Linked DNA regions of Homo sapiens: regions 2 and 3 are each linked to region 1. Evidence: promoter capture Hi-C in human tissues and cell types (Jung and others, 2019). All regions are on one chromosome and are shown on one strand. The core of a region is centred on a gene start or on the middle of the fragment in contact, and the rest is flanking DNA. Distances in the headings are between cores, read along the strand shown.

The links. Contacts are between HindIII fragments. The study calls those that stand out against the background at their distance.
Region 2: a fragment that was not itself captured here is called in contact with the fragment with the promoter of NXNL2 in region 1 in 2 of the 25 tissues and cell types used here (dorsolateral prefrontal cortex and spleen).
Region 3: a fragment that was not itself captured here is called in contact with the fragment with the promoter of NXNL2 in region 1 in 2 of the 25 tissues and cell types used here (liver and mesendoderm cells).

Annotation. Positions count from the first base shown.
Region 1 is chr9:88,533,108-88,537,692 of GRCh38, reverse strand. It overlaps NXNL2 (nucleoredoxin like 2), which reads right to left and starts at 2,515. Exons shown (of 2, transcript NM_001161625.2): 1 at 1,957-2,515. The coding sequence starts at 2,258. LOC105376134 (a long non-coding RNA gene) reads left to right here and starts at 3,153. Exons shown (of 2, transcript XR_007061653.1): 1 at 3,153-3,679. RefSeq lists enhancers at 1,061-1,894, 1,895-2,729. The HindIII fragment of the contact is 10,556 bases long and covers 1-4,585 here.
Region 2 is chr9:88,032,541-88,037,125 of GRCh38, reverse strand. No RefSeq gene overlaps it. Among named protein-coding and RNA genes, the nearest start is that of LINC03026, 43 kb to the left of the region's middle. The HindIII fragment of the contact is 4,152 bases long and covers 269-4,420 here.
Region 3 is chr9:88,251,966-88,256,550 of GRCh38, reverse strand. No RefSeq gene overlaps it. Among named protein-coding and RNA genes, the nearest start is that of SPATA31C2, 120 kb to the right of the region's middle. The HindIII fragment of the contact is 8,068 bases long and covers 1-4,585 here.

The DNA of each region.
Region 1 (4,585 bases), core at 1,266-3,765:
AACCGGATTGGTCTTTGAACCAAGAGCCAATCAGATGGGAACACCAAGGTCCTGTAGACGTAGGATAAGCAGAATTTAGGGCGTAGCTCCAACAATTCCCACAGAATATCCCACTACCTAGCTTACACATGACAACAACAGAGTTAAGGAAGTTCAGTGTGGAAAGGGGTAGGGACAAACAGCTAAGTTTACAAAAAGAAAAATCCCTCCCAGGCCAGCCAGGCTGAGAAGATAGGAGCACACAGCTGACCCACGTCACGCAGCTCACTGCCTCCAGCTGGAGCTCACAGGCTTGACCAGAGCATCAGAAACAGACGAGCAGTCTCCATGGCCCCAAGCGATGACCTCCCCAGTCCAATCTGTGTGCCGCTGGGGACCAAGACTCACCACCCCCTCAGTGAGGAAGTAGGGCACGGCAGAAAGAGGGTCCTCAGAGCCAGGAGAACTGAACTCTATGCCTCAATGGCACATCTGTAAAATGGGGCAATAGACTAGAGAGCTGGGACATAACCAGCGGACACATGAGCTCATATGTGATCAGCTCAACCCTGACAACAACCACGTGATGTATCATATGCTCAGCAATAAAATACCTTGCCTGCCATCACCTGGCAAGTAAATCCCAGAGCTGGGCCAGAGCTTTGTGCCTAATTACTATAATGATACTGCCATCGTCTCTCGCTTTCAAACCTGCGTTCTTTCAAAAGCTTACAAATAACTTGAGTACTAAACAAGTCCAATCCTGTTTTTAAAAGCACCACTTGAACTGATTCTGTAAGAAATCCTTTTGCAAAGTGAACCACCCATCTTGGAGATTCATTATCAATAGAACTTTCAGAGTCCCGGTGTGAGTGAGGCTCCCAGAAGCAGGTTACCCCCCTGGAAGGCTGGGCGGTGCCCTGCCTGGGCCTCCTCTTTCACTGGGAATCACCAAAAATCATGTTTGGGGGAATAATTAGATTTCTTCCCATTAATTACTCATCTACAAAACTTTCCAAAGTTAGCTTCCAGTTTTCATTTTCCAGAAGGAATGTCATCTCATGATAATCAGTTTAGGGGGTAATGCCACAACTTAATGATAATCTCCAGAAATGTGAGGCTGTAAAGCAAAACCCAGAAATTCACATTGGTACCTAGAAGGGGGTGGCCAGGACAACATACTTGACGAGGCCTGCTTTAAACCTAAGTCTGGACTCTTACACCATAGGAGACCACAGGAGACCCACCCCAAAAGCAGAACAATCAATCCCTGTAATCCCCTCTCTGCCAATCCCTACCCCCTCCTTTGCAACAGTTAGAGTAATAAAGTTTATAGTAATGAGTTTTATGCTTCTCTAGTGATGAAATTCCATCAGTGTCGGTAAAAATGAAACCGCAAAGGTGGCCAGCACCTGGGTTCCTGCCAGCCTTGAAGCCCCCGTCCCTCCCTCCCAGCAAACCAACCACGGCCTGCACTGTGGGTGCCTGTCACAGAGCTGATGTCCTCGCGGGTCATCCCTCATCCCCGCATCCAGACACCGGGTCATGTCCCTGTGCTTCCTGCCCACTAACTGGGAGGATGACGCAGCGGCGCCGGGAGTCCAGGGCTGATTGGGCCGGCGGTTCCCGGAGCCGAGCCCGCGAACTCACAGCATCACCACCACTGGGAGCTCCTTCGCAATGCAGATTCCCGGAGCTCCAGACCCCAGGCAGAAACGCGCCCGCGTCCATGCTCCACGAGCCCCCTTGGGGTGCCGATGCCCTGGGTTTTCGAATCTGGTCTGCACCCTCCCTGGTCTCCAAGAGAGGTTGAAACTGAGACTGAGTGTGATTTACCGGAGTCCGGACGTGAACCGAGAGACGGGGAGGTGTTGGGGGGGGGCGTCATAAAGAGCTCCCCAGTGCAGAGGGGGAGGCCTGGGGGAACATGGGGGAGACGTGCCGGGCGGCCCCCGCCCCCCCAGGACCCCCACTCACTGCCGGTAGGGGTCGTGGAAGGGCAGCGCCAGCCAGGCGCCATGCAGCTCGCGCATGAAGTCCAGCATCTCCTGGGAGCTGCCGTCGGCTGACACGAAGACCACTTCGAAGGGCGCGGGCCGCCGCGCCTCGGCCACCAGCGCCGTATAGAAGTCGCAGAGCAGCGGCGTGAAGTCGCGGCTCGGCGCGCACCGGGCCGCCGCGAAGTACAGTGCCACCACCTTGTTCTGCAGCGCCGCCTCGGCCTCCACCGTCGCGCCCTTACAGGTCACCAGGTGCCGCTCGCCCAGAATGTCAACCATGGCGCAGACACGCAGCCACCTGAGACCCGAGGACACCTGCAGGAGGATGATCACCTGCGGGGAGGCGGCGGCGAGCGCCGCGGTGCCCCGCCTCTGTCCGCACCACCGGGCGCTGGACCTCTCAAGACCTGCCCCAGATGCGCCCACACCTTGGCCAGGCCTCGCCTGTGGCTGGAGCAATTGTGTTCGCGCCGACAATGAGACACTCAGACACCAGAGACCCCAGATACCTGGGCGACAGCGCGGCACCCGCCTCTGGGAGCGGGGCCAGCCAGGCAACCTCAAGCCCTCAGGTCTCTGCACCCTCCCCCAACTGCGCCCCGCCCACACTCCTGCGCCCTCCCACCACTGCGCCCCGCCCACATTCCCCGCAAGCTCCCCAACTGCGCCCCGCCCACATTCCGCACTCTCCACCCACTGCGCCCCGCCCACATCCCGCACTCTCCACCCACTGCGCCCCGCCCACATCCCCGCCCCCGCCCCCACTGCGCCTCGCCCGCATCCCCACACTGTCCCCCACTGCGCTGGGCCCACATCCCTACACTCTCCACCCACTGCGCCCCGCCCACATCTCCGCACCCTCCCCCACCGCACCCCGCCCACATCCCCGCACTCTCCTCCAACTGCGCCTCGCCCACATTCCACAGTTTCCCCTCACTGCGCCCCGCCCACATCCCCGCACTCTTCTCCAACTGCGCCTCGCCCACATTCCACAGTTTCCCCTCACTGCGCCCCGCGCACACTCCCGCTCCCTCCCCCACTGCGCCCCGCCCACACTCCCGCGCCCTCCCCCTCACTGCGGCCCGCCGACATCCCGCGCCCCCGCCCCCATCCCGACTGCGCCCCGCCCACCTCCCGCGCCCTCTCCCACTGGTTGTCCAGCCCACATCCTGCACTCCCTCCACTGCGCCCCGCTCACACTCCCGCACCCTCCCCACACTGCGCCCTGCCCACACTCCTGCACTCTCTCCCCACTACGCCCCCTACCACATCCCGCGCCCCCGCCCCCATCCCCACTGCGCCCCGCCCACACTCCCGCGCCCTCGCGCCCCTGGGCTCTCCCGTCGTGGGCACTCTCCCCAGCGCTTCTACACTTTCTCCCGACGCAGCGCCCTGCCCTCCGTCCCGCCCCACCTATTGCCTCCTGCGCTTCCCCCACACCGTGCTCTTCCTCCTCCTTCACTTCCTCCCACTCCTCGCGCTCCCCTTCAGCGCCCCACGCAGCCCCTCCCCCAAAACCCCGCGTCGCTCTCCTTCCCTCCTGGCCTCTCTTCCAGTCTCGCGCTCCCTGCCGGGCCCCGCCGCAGGTGTCCCGCAGCCGTCTCCCCAGGGCATTTGAATCTTGCCTTGGAGCTCTTGCCGCGCGGCCCAGCACCCTGGAAGAGGCATCAGGGAGGATGGGACGACGAGGAAGGGGAAGGGTAATTGGGCTTGGAGCGGGCTTGGGCGGGGTGGTAGGGAACCTGAGCTCCGTTGGTTCAGGGTGTTTGCCCCTGACATCCTGTGGCCTGGCTGGGAGGGTTCGTGAAGTTCAGGAAGAAATTGGGAGCAGTCCTTACAGAATGTTTTATTTGAAGAACCAAGAGTATTAATTTTTTGGCGAGCACTGTTGTAGGCCCTGGGAATTCAGCAGTGAGAAAAATAATTTCAACTCCCTGCCAGACCCGGGCTAGAAGGAGGCAAGCGAGCGAGGCACTCGCATAGGGGCAAAATTTAAGGGCGCGACAAAAAAACTCAGTAGTCAAGGTAAATAATGTTTTAATACAATATCTTAAAAAGTCAAAATGAATGCAAAAAAAGTTTATAATGAACAAAATATCAAAAACTTAAAGACAGTGAATGAAACCAAAATATGCCATCCTAAAATATGCCGCTTTGGTATATTGATTATTTTGAGCGAGAGGCACTTGAAAAATAGCAAATGCAGAGAGACGTTCTCCCCTTACCTGTCTAAAGACGGAACCTCCAAAAGAAACTGATTGTCGTAAATTCCCTCCCGGGAGGATGGACTCTTATCACAGCAGAAGTCCACACCACACCTAGACAAACTTTGTCACAAACTCATAAAGACTTATGCATCTTTCCTAAAAATCAGTTACTCTCCCCTAAGTGGCCTACACCAGCTTCCAGTTCCCCAATTTTAGAAGCTCTCAAAGCTCACTGGTTTGGGGGGTTTTCACCTAGTTTCCTGCAATGCCCCCATGCAGGTGATATTAAAGATTAATAAATGTGTATTCCCGTTCCCCCCGTTCATCTGCCCGTTGGCAGTTAATTTCATAGAGCCAGCTATGGAACTGGGGAGGACAGAGAGAAGGTCTTTGCTCTCC
Region 2 (4,585 bases), core at 1,095-3,594, 500 kb after region 1:
AGTGTCCACAGAAGGGAGGAAGGTAGGAGGGATGCGCTGGCCCCGCCGGCCTCTGCTGGCACATCCCATCACATCCATCATCTGTCTCACAGATTCCCTGGCCTGTCCCCCAACAGGATCCAACACCACCTTCCCCAGCCCCTGCCCAGAGCTTCCTCTCCAAACATAGCTCACTGGATCAAGCTGGGCTGGGGCTCTTCTCCCCTTTTCTCTTTGATTGATGTAATTTAAGGGCATGGAAGGAAATCAAATTGCACATTGTAAACTTTTGCATAGAAAAGTTTATGATGAAAATTTCCTTTGCCCTGCTCATCCCCACCTGGAATGCAGCTTCCCAGTGAAAGGACCCACAACCCACCAGGAGGCAAGAAAGATTGCTTTAGACCAGCAGTCCCCAACCTTTTTGGCGCCAGGGACCGGGTTTGTGGAAGACAATTTTTAACCCGGGGTTGGGTTGGGGGATGGTTTCAGGATGAAACTGCTCCACCTCAGATCATCAGGCATTAGTTACATTCTCATAAGGAGCAAGCAACCTAGATCCCTCACATGTGCAGTTCACGATAGGGTTTGTGCTCCTATGAGAATCTAGTGCCGCTGCTGATCTGACAGGTAATGCTGGCTCACCCACCCACCATTCACCTCCTGCTGTGTGGCCCCGTTCCTAATAGGCCACAGACGAGCTCCAGTCCATGGTCCGGGAGTTGGAGACCCCTGCTTTAGACTGAAGACATCTGAGATACAGCAGACACAGCTAGATACTTTTTTTGTTTGTTTGTTTTTTTCCGAGACGGAGTCTCTCTCTATCACCCAGGCTGGCGTGCAGTGGTGCAATCTCAGCTCACTGCAACCTCCACCTCCTGGATTCAAGCGATTCTCCTGCCTCAGCCTCCCAAGTAGCTGGGATTACAGGTGCACACCACCACACCTTGCTAATTTTTGTATTTTTAGTAGAGACAGGGTTTCACCATGTTGGCCAGATTGGTCTCAAACTCCTGACCTCAAGTGATCCGCCCGCCTCGGCCTCCCAAAGTGCTGGGATTACAGGGGTGAGCCACTGCACTCAGCCTAGAGGCCTTTTTTGAGCTTCCCATATATGATTAAAGGCAGAGATTTCTGATCATGAAGCTGCCATACATCCCCTCTCAAGGTGCCTGTTAACACCAAGAGTAAACCCTGTGTAAGCAAGCCCTCTGAAAACCTTCCATACTTCCCTCCAAAGTCCTAACCACCCTATTTTTACGATGCTGATGTATGAACTCTCACCCCTGGCGGCTCCTGGAGCCACTCCTTTTGGAGTGCTCCTAAATACAGTGAAAGCGAACTTTTCTGCTGTTATTCTTTCTATTGTCAATTAAATTGCCATCCTCTCCACCTCCCCACCACTCAGATCTATTGGTAAAGAAAAGCTTTCCTAGGCCGGGCACAGTGGCTCACACCTGTAATCTCAACACTTTGGGAGGCCAAGGTGGGCAGATCACCTGAGGTCGGAAGTTCGAGACCAGACTGACCAACATGGAGAAATCCCATCTCTACTAAAAATATAAAGTTGGCTGGGCGTGGCGCATGCCTGTAATCCCAGCTACTCGGGAGGCTGAGGCAGGGGAATCGCTTGAACCTGGGAGGCAGAGGTTGCAGTGAGCCGAGATCACGCCATTGCCCTCCAGCCTGGGCAACAAGAGCGAAACTCCAACTCAAAAAAAAAAAAAAAAGAAAGAAAAAGTTTTCTGTCAAAGCTGGGAACACATGTTAATACTTTTCTGGTGGTTAACTCTATGATTCTTCTTTAAAATCCTATAGTTTCCCTTTTATTACTATTCTATAAATCCTCAGTTCCTTTTGATTCTTTTATTGCTTATCTTTACACTTTCAAATAATAATCTCAAAACTCCATTTCTTGTTTTGTCAACTGAACTTGCCCTTGGACTATGTGAGAGCATCAGCACCTGCTGCTCGGTCGCCAGCGCAGCGGCCCCTCCTAGCTCTGGCCAGCAGCACTCCAATTTTGACAGCACTGAGACTTGCCCACTTGCATTCTATTCTGCAACTATATTGGATTTGTCCATGTTTTTGTCTAACTGCTGTTTCTACAAGATAAAAATCAATATGCATCAAATGCATTATATTGACTACTATGTAAAAAGTGGTCATTATAGCCTGCTGTGGTGGCTCACGCCTATAATCCCAGCACTTTCAGAGGCCAAGGTGGGTGGATCACCTGAAGTCAGGAGTTCGAGACCAGTCTGGCCGACATGGTGAAACCCTGTCTCTACTAAAAATACAAAAATTAGGCAGCCGGGCGATGTGGCTCATGTCTGTAATCCCAGCACTTTGGGAGGCCTAGGCGGGCAGATCACAAGGTCAGGAAATCGAGACCATCCTGGCTAACATGGTGAAACCATGTCTCTACTAAAAATACAAAAATTTAGCTGGGCATGGTGGCGGGTGCCTGTAGTCCCAGCTACTCAGGAGGCTGAGGCAGGAGAATGGCGTGAACCTGGGAGACAGAGCTTGCAGTGAGCCAAGATGGCGCCACTGCACTCCAGCCTGGGTGACAGAGCGAGACTCCGTCTCAAAAAATATATATATATATACAAAAATTAGCCGGAGCCTATAAACTTGGGAGGCTGAGGCAGGAGAATTGCTTGAACCTGGGAGGAGGAAGTTACAGTGAGCTGAGATCGCACCACTGCACTCCAGCCTGGGTGAAAGAGCAAAACTCCATTTCAAAAAAAAAAAAAGGGGGTCGTTATAAACCCAAATGAAGTAGTTTCCCGATGCAGATGTTTTTGAGTGTCTGCGTCACCATAGTGACTTACTTTCCCCTATTTTGCCAACAGTCCTGAAATCTTGGTTGTATGGATCTTGAAGTGATCTTTCATGAGAACAACCCTGATCAACATTAAGGCCACACAGACAATCATCACACTGGGGTCACTGTCCAAACCAAACATAACTGTCTCAATCCCAATCTGCAAAATAGAAATGTATTAAAAACCTAAATCATGATGTGCTACATTTTCTTCTCCTTAAGCATAAAATGCACTGTTTCCTGTTATATTGAATATTTGATCAGATTCTGCTTAAAAAAAAGAAAATTTAAAAAGCTTTCTCAAGTCTAACAGAGCTTATAAAAATAAAAAGTAAAAATAAAAAGCCTTCATCAGACATTAGGGGCTGAGGTTTTCTGTTTGTAATTAAATGTGCCATTAACAAGAATAGAGAATACTTGAAAAAAAATTTTTTTTTTTTGAGACAGGGTCTCACTCTGTCGCCCAGCTGAAGTGCAGTGGTGTGATCTCGGCTCACTGCAGCCTCAACCTCCTGGGTTCAAGCCATCCTCCCACCTTAGCCTCCTGAGTAGCTGGGACTACAGAAGTGCACCACCATGCCTGGCTAATTTTTGTATTTTTTGTAGAGACGACATTTCACCATGTTGACCAAGCTGGTCTCAAACTCCTCAGCTCAATCTACCTGCTTCAGCCTCCCAAAGTGCTGGGATTATAGGCGTGAGCCACCATATCCAGCCAAGAATAGAGAATACTTAATCTCCATTTCTCTGTATAACATGCTGGCAAAATACTACATAATGCTCTTAGGCCCTTGGCCAACGAATACCTCAGTCAATCATCCAATTAACCTTGGTGGTTCGTTATTACCTGTCATAAACAATACAATACACCATTTCCTCTACCTCCCACATTTAAGGTTCTTTAAACATCAACAGTTCCATGTAGCTGAGTCCAACCCAGAATCAATGCAAGAGCATGTTCTTCAACCATTTTTAAGCATGGAGTTTTCCTTTCCTTTGAGTTCATAGTCCTCAGTAACTAGAGCTACTTAATATGTACATATGCAGGCAGGAAACCTGATGCAGAAGGGTCTTATAAATGCACTTATGAACCTGGGCAAGTTGCTGTGTCAAAATATGCACAGTCTAACCTCTGGCTGAGTTAGCTACAACCAATAAACAGTAGATCCATGCAATTTTTATTTGGGAGTTATCTTTATAAAATCACAGACAGAACTAAGAAGTCACGAATGTGAAAAGGCACAGGAAATGTAAATGAGTGAACAGAGCAAATCAGACAAGAAGGATGGAGGTAAGAGGGTAACAGGGAAACAGGGAGGTAAAGAGGGTAACAGGGAAATGAATGTGAGGATCAGACACTTTCTTCATCATTGAAATGGTCAGAACAGGGCTTTGGACCTAGGCAAAGCCTCCATGCCGGTGGTTCCCAAATTTCAGCATGAATCAGAATCCCCTGGAGGCAGAGCTGCCAGATACAATACAGAACCCCAGGCCGGGCGCGGTGACTCATGCCTGTAATCCCAGCACTCTGGGAGGCCGAGGTGGGTGGATCACGAGGTCAGGAGTTCAAGACTAGCCTGGCCAAGATAGTGAAACCCTGTCTCTACTAAAAATACAAAAATTAGCCGGACGTGGTGGCATGTGCCTGTAATCCCCGCTATTCGGGAGGCTGAGGCAGGAGAATCACTTGAACCTGGGAGGTGGAGGTTGCAGTGAGCCAAGATCACGCCACTGCACTTCAGCCTAGGCGAAAGAGAGAGACTCTGTCTAAAAAAC
Region 3 (4,585 bases), core at 874-3,373, 280 kb after region 1:
AGCCTCACTCTGTCATCCAGGCTGGAGTGCAGTGGCACGATCTCAGCTCACTGCAACCTCTGCCTCTTGGATTCAAGCGATTCCCCTGCCGCAGTCTCCTGAGTAGCTTGGATTACAGGCTCCCGCCACCATGCCTGAGGCTGTTTCTCTGCTCAGGTCCCAGTGGCTGGTCTAGTTCCTCCACATACTTATGGTAACTTGGTCCTTTCCCTTACACTATTTTTGCGTGTTTCCTTTACAACTAAGAGTTCTACTCATGCGATATTTTAGTAAGGCAAAATATCTGGTCAATTGAACACACCCAATCCTGTAGTGAGACAAGTGCATCAGGGTGGAAAGATCTAGCTTTCAAGTTTGTCCAATGTATGGCATTTCACATTTTTATTTTCTTTTATTTTGAGACAGGGTATTGCTGCCACCCAGGCTGGAGTGCAGTGGCATGATCTCGGCTCACTGCAACCTCTGCCTCCTAGGCTTAAGCAATCTTCCCACCTCAGCCTCCTGAGTAACTGGGACCACAGGCACGTGCCACTCCACACCCAGCTAATCTTTCTTTCCTTCTTCTTTTTTTTTGAGACAGGATTTTGGCACGTTGCCCAGGCTGGTCTTGAACTCCTGGGCTCAAGTGATCTGCCTGCCTTGGCCTCCCAAAGTGCTGAGATTACAGGCATGAACCACCACGCATGGCCTCAAATTTTAATCTTTGAACACATTCCTAAGAAAGAAATACATTTGACATTGGGACTTGCTTTCAATGCACATGCACACACAGACACACATGGGAACATACAAAACACTTCATGATTTTTAAAAATTTAGAGATGGGGTCTCACCATGTTGCCCCAGCTGATCTCAAACTCCTGGCCTCAAGTGATCCTCCTGCCTTGGCCTCTCAAAGTGCTGGAATTATAGGCATGAGCCACTGTAACTGGCTGAAAACACTTTGATGCATGTTTGATGAGACCATATTTTTTACACTACGTCTCATTCTATCCTATTAGATTCCACTAGCAAAGGTAGTTGTTAACCTACTAAATCAATTCTGTTTAGTTGGATCGATTAATGGTTGTGATCTGCAGTTTGAAAAACACTGCTCAAATTATCTCTTTTTTGACGTTCCCCCAAGAGAAATATTGTGTCTCGTGACACTTTCTTCCAGGGAGAAAATTGGCACACCAGCCAACACGAGTATTTCTGCCTATTTGGAATCTATTTCTCATCACAGAAGATCAAACTGGGCTTCTGCGTACAGTGAGCTCACAGCCTCTGTGAGTTTAGTCACACAAGACTCTCCTGGGAGACCGAGCATTTACAAAATTGAATTTCTGACTCTGCAAAGCTGAGGACCCAGCCAGGACTTGGGTTCCCTCTCAGTCTGGGTATGTGCACATGGTGAACATCATCAATGCTTTGTTTTAATGTCATCTTCCCTAGGTACCCTTCTGTTATGAACTGAACTGTGCCTCCCCAAAATTCATCTGTTGGAGCCCTAACCCTAGTACATCAGAATATGACTGTATTTGGAGACAGGGTCTTTTAAGAGGCGATTAAGTTGAAATGAGGTCATATGAGTGGACCCTAATCCAATCCGACTAGTGTCCTTGTAAGAAGAGGAGATTAGGACACAGAAACATAGGCATGACCATGTGAGGACACAGGGAGAAGACAACTGTCTACAAGCCAGGGAGCAAGGCTTCAGGAGAAACTAATCCTCCTGACAACCTTGATTTCAGATTTCCAGCCTCCAGAACTATGAAAGAATACAGATGTCCCCCAACTTCTGATGCGTTATGTCCTGAAAAACCCATTACAAGTTGAAAAGACCATAAGTTAAAAATGTATTTCAGGCTGGGTGTGGTGGCTCACGCCTGTAATCCCAGCACTTTGGGAGGCCGAAGTGGGCAGATCACCTGAGGTCAGGAGTTTGAGACCAGCCTGCCCAACATGGTGAAACCCATCTCCACTAAAAATGCAAGAAATTAGCCAGGCACGGTGGTGTGCACCTGTAATCCCAGCTATGTGGGAGGCTGAGGCATGAGAATTGCTTGAACCTGGGAGGTGGAGGTTGCAGTGAGCTGAGATCACGCCACTGCACTCCAGCCTGGGTGACAGAGTGAGACTCCATCTCAAAAAAAAAAAAATATGTTTCAAACAATAACATACTGAGCATCATAGCTTAGCCTAGCCTACCTTAAACATGCTCGGAACACTTCCATTAGCTTACAATTGGGCAAAGTTATCTAACACAAAGCTTGTTTTGTAATAGTTGAATATCTCATGTAATTTATTGAATACTGTATTGAAAGTGAAAAACAGAATGATTGTAGGGGTACTCAAAGTACAATTTCTACTGAATTTGATACCAGTGGGCTGGGGGAGGTCCCCAAACACTGGTGGGACCAGATGAGGAACCCCAGCTGATGTCCAGGCTCTTAACATTGTTTGGAGAATGACTTCAAGGCTGGGTTAGAAAATAGTGAAAGTAGAGATTTATGGTAAAGGGAAAAGTACACACTCAAGAAAAGGGAGTGCACGTGTACTCAAGAGAGTCACGCAAAAGGGAGTTTGGGACTGCTGCCTTTATGAATTTCTGTAACCAAGGGGTGGAATATCCATGAAGATTCCTGGAAAAAGGTGGAGATTTCTTGGAACTGTGGTGCCACCCATTTGTACACCAAATATGGGGATTCTCAGAACCGTCATAACACCGGTGGGTATATGATTTAGAATGTTAATGAACATATAATGAGGTCCTAGGTGAAACCTAGGTCAAATCCAGCACCATGTTGGGTCCAGAAGGTTTTAGCTAGCTTGGTCTATACCCTGGGTTTTCAGAGTCTTATCAGCCTATAGCTGCTGCAGCTATTTCAACAGTTTCTTTTTGCTAGTCATGTGAAACTTCTGCCTGGAATGTTCTATTCTCCTGTGACTACCCTGTATTATTCCTATTTAAAATGATGGTGTGCATATTGCTTTCTCACCATCATAAAGTAGAAAAATTGTAAATTGAACCATCATAAGTTGGGAATCATCTGTGTGTTTCTATTTAAGCTGCCCAGGGTGGTACTTTGTTATGGTAGCCTGAGCTGACTTGTAGGCCTTCCTAGGTCTTTCCACAGGCATTTAAGAGTTGTCTGCTCTCCCCCTTTCCCTGGCTTCTGCCAAGTTCCCACAACACTTCATTCCTATCTCAGTTGTTGAAATTGCCATGCTATATCTTATTTATTTATGTGTGACAATAAATTACTGTAGGTTGTACTCATATCTTGGTGTAGAATAGTTTGTCAACAAATGCTTGTTTGGTTGAACTCAAAATATAAAATCTAAGAACAAATATTATGTCCTTCAAGATTGTCTCATAATTTCATTATAAAATGCTTTTCTTTCTTGAAGCAGACTCACCTTCATATCCAATGTATATTTGTATTAGTCCATTCTGACACTGCCATAAAGAACTACCTGAGACTGAGTAATTTATAAAGAAAATAAGTTTAATTGACTCACAGTTCCACAGACTGTACTGGAGGCATGGCCAGGGAGGCCTCAGGGAACTTACAATCGTGGATGAAGGGCAAAGGGGAAGCAAGCACATCTTCAAATGGTGGCAGGAGAGAGAGAGGGAGAGAGAGAGAACGGGGAAGTGCTATACACTTTTAAACAACCAGATTTCATGAGAACTCACTCACTATCATGAAAACTGCAAGGGAGAAATTCGCCCCCCGATCCAATTACCTCTTACCAGGTGCCTCCTCCAACATTGGGAATTATAATTCAACATAAGATTTGGGTAGGGACACAGAGCCAAACCATATCATTCCACCCCTGACCCTTCCATAATCACATATCCTTTTCACGTTTCAAAACACAATCAAGCCTTTGCAACAGTGCCCCAAAGTCTTAACTCATTCCAGCATTAACTCAAAAGTCCAAGTCCAAAGTCTCATCTGAGACAAAGCAGGTTCCTTCTGTCACTTCAGTTCCCTTTTGAGCCTATAGAATAAAAAAAACAAGCTAGTTACTTCCAAGATACAATGGGGATTCAGGCATTGGGTAAATTCCCCCTTTCCAAATGGGAGAAATTGGCTCAAACAAAGGGGCCCATGTAAGCCCAAAACCCAGCAGGGCAGTCATTAAATCTTAAAGCTCCAAAATTATCTTTTTTTGACTCCATGTCTCACATCCAGGCCACACTGATGTAAGGGGTGGACTCCTGAGGTTTTGGGCAGCTCTGTCCCTATGGCTCTGCAGGGTACAGCCCCTGTGGCTACTTTCACAGATTGGCATTTAGTACCTGTGGATTTTTCAGGTGCACAGTGCAAGCTGTCGATGGAGCTACCATTCTGGTGTCTGGATAGTGGTGGCCCACTTCTTACAGCTCCAGTAGGCAGTGCCCCAGTGGAGACTCTGTGTGGGGACTCTGACCCCACATTTCCCCTCCCCATTGTCCTGGTCAAGGTTCTTCATGAGGGCTTCACCCCTGCAGCAGACTTCTGCCTGGACATCCATGCATTTCCATACATCCTCTGAAATCTAGGCAGAGGCTCTCAAACCTCAACTCTTGTCCTCTGCATACCTGCAGACCCAA